Regions from separate parts of the Homo sapiens genome. Here region 2 is linked to region 1. Evidence: promoter capture Hi-C in human tissues and cell types (Jung and others, 2019). All regions are on one chromosome and are shown on one strand. The core of a region is centred on a gene start or on the middle of the fragment in contact, and the rest is flanking DNA. Distances in the headings are between cores, read along the strand shown.

Region 1 (2,700 bases), core at 173-2,672:
ACTACCTCAGTTGGGTTGTCATTGTCTCACTTTACTCTCACTGCATTTCCATTGAAAAAGGAATATGGGGAAATTAGTATTGCATTTTTAAAGTGAGTAACTGTGTGCTTAGTATTCAATTAGTAGAGGGCTTATCTAAGAGAAACTTGCAAAATATTGCCTTGTATACAAGTCTATACAAATTGAAATTACTATAAAAAGATGAATGTTTTCTGACCAAAAAATTGGCTATACTATGACAAAGTTATTTCCTTTAAAAAGCTGAATACTTCTAGTGATATTAAAGATGAGCATAATCAATAACATATCAGAAGTTTCCAGCTGCATATTTTAGTTTAAACATAACTTTAAACTTCTGATCTCTGAATGTTCAAATTACAGCTTTAGGTATCTAGCTTTTTTAAAAAAAAACCCAGATGATTGTTTGAGCTTGCATTTTTATTTATATAGCTGCTGGTTAGGAATCTATAGATAAATAGATTCCTTTAATTAACAACTCCAAGTAACATACATAAGTCTACAAATGCATTGAATAAATCCTCTCGCTTAGGCCACGGCTTTAGGAGCCTCATTTTTTAAAAGAGAGAGAGAAAAAAAGGAAACTTTTTAGCAGTGTCTTTCGGCCACGTTTCAATTTAATCTCACATTTGAGTTCCACAATTGTTTTTTAATACGTACCCTTTGCGCCATCGGCCTCTCTGGCTCCCTTCCTACTTCAACTTCTAATATATCCTCTTTAAGGCCAGTGTGAAAAGAAACAAATATTCAAACTCCCCCGGAAAAAAAAAAAAAAAAAAAAAAAAGCACGACGAAAAATCCCTTAACGTCTCCAGCAACGTGAGCTACTGGTCCCAGATCTTCGGTCTACGGGACCTGAAGCAAAGCGCCCGAGTCACTGAGCATAAAAGCGCTCCGTTTCCAAGACAGCAGCGGGGGCAAAAAAAAGCAGATCTTCTCTCCCCCAAAAATCAGTTTAAAAAAAAAAAAAGAAAGAAAGAAAGAAAAGGAAAAAAAAGAGCGCCCCTCAGACCCAACTACCAAATCTCATGGCTTTCTGCCACTCCAGCTGTCAATCACAGGCGAGGTTGTCAACGTGGTGAATGAATGATCATCCGCTCTGTCTTCTTCTGGTCAGAACACCTCAAATGTTAATATTCAAATGCACAAAGCCCTAGCGCTCGCTTCCCTTGAATCAGTCCTAATTCCTAATCAGTTTCTCTCTTCTCTCTCTCTCTTTCTTTCTCTCCCTCTCTCTCCCTCTTTGCAAGTGCTGCACTGGAAGGAGATTAGAGAAGGAGGGTTAAAAAAAATGTCTGTCTGAGTTTGTCTTAAAGGAGCCACGATCGATGCTGCCCGCTTGCAGTCCCCGTGCGTGTGTAAAGTGTGTGTTGCACAGGCGGAGAGGTGGATTCCGACCAGAATGCTAGAACCCGGAAGTAGTGGTGGCCATAACAGGTCGCGTCTTACACAATGCATTGGGCTGCAGCAAGTAGGCTCCTCGGCAGGGGTGGGTGCGCGAAGCGAGCTCTGGCCGCACTGGAGAGGCAGAGAGGCGCTCCATTAAATCGCACGCCCAGGCACAAACACCACACACCCAGGGCACACGCACACAAACGCAGGCAGTAGCCCGCGGCCGCCAGCTTTATTTTCAGTATTCTTTTCTCTCCCTCCCCCTGCAGACTCTCTCCCCAAAGCCGACTCTCTTGAAATAAATTGGGAATCAACGCCGGGCAGGCAGCAGCGGGAGTTATTTTGCACAGGGCTCCGCGCATAGACTTCATGACTTTCCTCGAAATTATTGGGGTCTGCCAGTGTTTTTCGGGGCAGGGGGTGATGCGCAAAGTACTGAATTCTCAGAACTAAACACTGCAAGGAGAAAAGTCAAAGCGGGATCGTGGAGGAAAAGGAGGGAGAAGCCAGGTTGGGAAAGCCTCTGCTAAGGAGTCCTGAGAACATGGGGTTGAGGTGGCTCGGGCTTTCTGCAGACCCAGCTTAGAGGTTTCTTTGCTGTTAGAGGTGGACGCCCGGCCGGGGGAAAGAAAATGCTAGCATTTTGTCACTTCGGGTCTGGACTCCCCCACCTCCTAGCCCCGGCGGCTCCCAGCCCCAGCCCAGGCGTCCTGCGCGAAGTAGAGAGGAAGGGAGGGAACAATGAGCTGAGCGCGGGGAATGTGCCCCCAGCGCCTGTTTACAAACACCAAGCTATTTATGATCGTCGGAAAGCGAAACCCGGCGCGGGCTCGCAGCAGCCCAGACCTCGCGGGCGGAGCCGGGGCCGGGGAGCCGCTGGGAGGGAGGCTCTTTCTCCGACCCGCTCGGGGTGAGGCGGCCGTGCGCCCAGGGCGCGGCGCGGCGCGGCGCGACGCTGCCGGAGTGCTAGGCTCCGGCTGCAGCCACCGCTGCCTTTGTCTTAGAGGCGCCGAGGGGCTCCAGCCTCGACCTCTCCCGGGCCTGTAAGAACCTCGCGCCCCACTAGCTCTTTCTCCAGCGAAGCCCTGCCCTCACCACCCCAGACATCCTTCCCCGCGCTCCTCTTTCCCGTCCCCAACCCGGCTCGGCGAAACCTCCCAGTGCCAGAGAAAAAGAAATCCGCTTCGGAAGCTGAGATTTCAGACAAAAGCTGCCTGTACCTACAACTCGGAGGCTCCAACCAACCACTGTTTTTTGTTTTGTTTTGTTTTTAACTTTAACACCTATTGC
Region 2 (2,700 bases), core at 65-2,564, 1.1 Mb before region 1:
AGCAAGCCTCATATTTTTTCTGCAATAAATGCTGGAAAGGAAAAAGAAATGCTGAAAATGATGAAGTAATTCCAATTCTGCTGATAGAGACCTGGAAATGCACTAGGGAAAAATGACAAGAGTGTAACACACTGCTGCTGATTATGTCATAATGATTATTTTATGCAGTTTGAAGAAGACTCACTGTTCTAAAGAACCAGCATCCATTTCCAGGAAAGAGCAGGGATTCTCCATCCATACCTCCATGGGATGAACCACATTGAAAATAATGATTTCCTTCTAATAGCTTACTCTACATTATATAAAGAATTCCTTGGGATTCTAAAAAAACCCTAATAATATAGTAATAATAACAACAGAGGTTTGTTTTTGCTATTTGTAGTCTAATATTCAGATTGTGAGCAGCTGTTTTGGAAGGCAAGATGAGTGAATAGATGTGAAGTCGTCTTAGAAATGTCCAGGCTTCCAAAAGAAATTTCACTTTTAAAAGAAAATAGCCTAATGTGAACCACATTAGAATCAGCACATCTAATCCTACGGAGAAAAAGTGACCATGGCTGTCTACACATATAGGCAGGTCATTCAAGCTCATTCAAAAATTCCACTTTCACTGGTGGTCTGTCTGTGTCCACATGGTGACAAATGGCCCCGGCAGGGTTTTTGAGGTGTTGGCACCACCAGTGAGTGCCAGATGGAATGTGGTGAAAGTTCTGATTTGTACCTTTCAGACTAAAGGTACTTTCCAGAATGGACGGGTCCTTCTGGCTGCCTTTTGTAAGTGCAGCCACAGGTATTCTGTTGAAGCCTGTGGGTGAGAAAGACATAAACAGGTGCTATAAATTTGTCAGACCAGGAAGCCACAGGCCGTTTAGTAAATGGTAAACCCAATGGCCCAAAAGAACAAAGGGGTCTCTTTTCATCAGAATGATCAGGCTCATTCAACAAATATTTATTGAGCACCCACTTTCTGCCAGATGGAAGAGCCACTGACAAGGCCTCTTATTTAAAGAGTGCCTGAAGTGAGGAAGCAAACCCCCAAATCATCTGGGATGGTATGAACTGAACTCTGGACCGCAACATGATGGAAAGGAGGAGCTGGGGTCCCAAGGGCAGTCCAGACAACCTGAACCTGTGACACTCACCCTGCCCACACACTCTCAGAGCTGCAGCTTTCACGGGGGTGAGTTTTCTGCCTTGATTTACTCAGGCCAAGACCTTTCATTTTCTGGAGAAAATACAGGTTTTTCTGTAGTATTTCACAAACAAGGCAATTCTCTCAGGGAGGTGAAACAGCATTGCTTCTCAACTGAAATCTGAATTTCATCTTCCTAAGTTTATATCGTTGAGTCACAATTATTGAGTCATAAAGACCAAAAAGGATGTTGAAAGTTAATTTATTTACCACACTATGGCTTAGACTATTCTAGAAATATGAAAATATCTCCTATTAAAGCAGACTTTCTGAGGAGAAACCATTGCTTTTTCAACTAACGTTTTATCATGTTTTATTGCCTTCATAGTTAACTATTTTTTTAAATCATATCTAACATAAGTCCCTCCAGCAGCATTTTATATCTCTTTTACAATACTTTGCCCTGGATAGTTGAATAATAGTTCATCAAGCCTCATATAACAGTAATTAAATTGTCACCTTGGTGTTTTTCAGACCCAATTCTTGCTAATTCTTTGTAGGTGACATGAATGCTTGTAAATGAGCTTGCTGAATGGGAGACCAAGAACGATGATATTGAGCTGTTACTACATGCCAGACATTTAACCCTTTCATCCAGGTTATCTCAATCATTCCTTACAGAAAGGCTTTTGAGGTAGGTTCAATCATTTCTCGCATTTTATAAGTGGGAAAACTGAGACTCTACGAGAGGTCAATATTTTACACTAGACCCCCACTGTTGGAAGGGGTGGAGCTGAGATGTATTTCCAGTTAATTACACAGATAAGACTGCCCACTTTTTCTATGAATATTTCCAACTATTAGATTGAGTGAACCTTAATTAATCAACATATTATTTTAAAAATAACTTGCTCATGTTCTAATGCCTGTTTGTCACTCAAGTGTTTGCAAAATCAGGGAATAATTTTTTTCTAGACTTTTACTCCTTTTCCAGATATAAGCTCTTAAAAACCTTTGTTTAATCTTTGACTTTAAATCCACAAAACATAATAGCTGGTGAGATACCTAATACCTTTGCTATTTTCTTTGAGGATACAAGTCTTGATATTTATCTCTTTAAGCCAGTAGCTCTCAACCTTGGCTGTGCCTTAGAATCACTTACAGGAGCTTTTAAAGATCCTGATGCTGGACCACACCCAAGGCCAATTAAATTAGGATTGCTGAGGGTGATACCCAGGTGATTACAATGAACATCCCAGGTTGAAACCACTGATTTAAACAACTCTTCCCTGGACTTTCCCGTACCTCCATTTCACCTGGCCTGCTGTGGCTTTCGCTTATCTAGTTAGAACTGTAATTTGGCCAGTTCATCGCTCATTCCCAAAGGGGATCTCATTACCTGTCTCTAATACAGAGTCTGAAAAAGCTAAATATTCTGTCTTCCAGATGTCCTTGCAACTGGAGGTGCCATATGATACAGTTCTGCCCAAAGACAAGAAAGTGAATGTCTGTTGAGGGCTTCCTATAAGGCCAATACATACAGGTGTTCCCAACAACAGGTAAGTCAA

What was found. Contacts are between HindIII fragments. The study calls those that stand out against the background at their distance.
Region 2: a contact is called between a fragment that was not itself captured here and the fragment with the promoter of MEIS1 in region 1, in 2 of the 25 tissues and cell types used here (IMR-90 fibroblasts and heart right ventricle).

What each region holds. Positions count from the first base shown.
Region 1 is chr2:66,433,847-66,436,546 of GRCh38, reverse strand. MEIS1 (Meis homeobox 1) reads right to left here and starts at 1,422. Exons shown (of 13, transcript NM_002398.3): 1 at 679-1,422. The coding sequence starts at 690. RefSeq lists enhancers at 1,463-1,562, 1,150-2,026, a promoter at 1,124-1,664 and a silencer at 2,271-2,370. The HindIII fragment of the contact is 8,281 bases long and covers 863-2,700 here.
Region 2 is chr2:67,562,908-67,565,607 of GRCh38, reverse strand. It overlaps LINC02831 (long intergenic non-protein coding RNA 2831), which reads right to left and starts at 1,308. Exons shown (of 7, transcript NR_183413.1): 1 at 1,143-1,308; 2 at 722-805; 3 at 1-31. LOC105374786 (a long non-coding RNA gene) reads left to right here. Exons shown (of 4, transcript XR_001739524.2): 2 at 1-1,180; 3 at 1,693-1,826; 4 at 2,579-2,700. The HindIII fragment of the contact is 7,980 bases long and covers 1-2,700 here.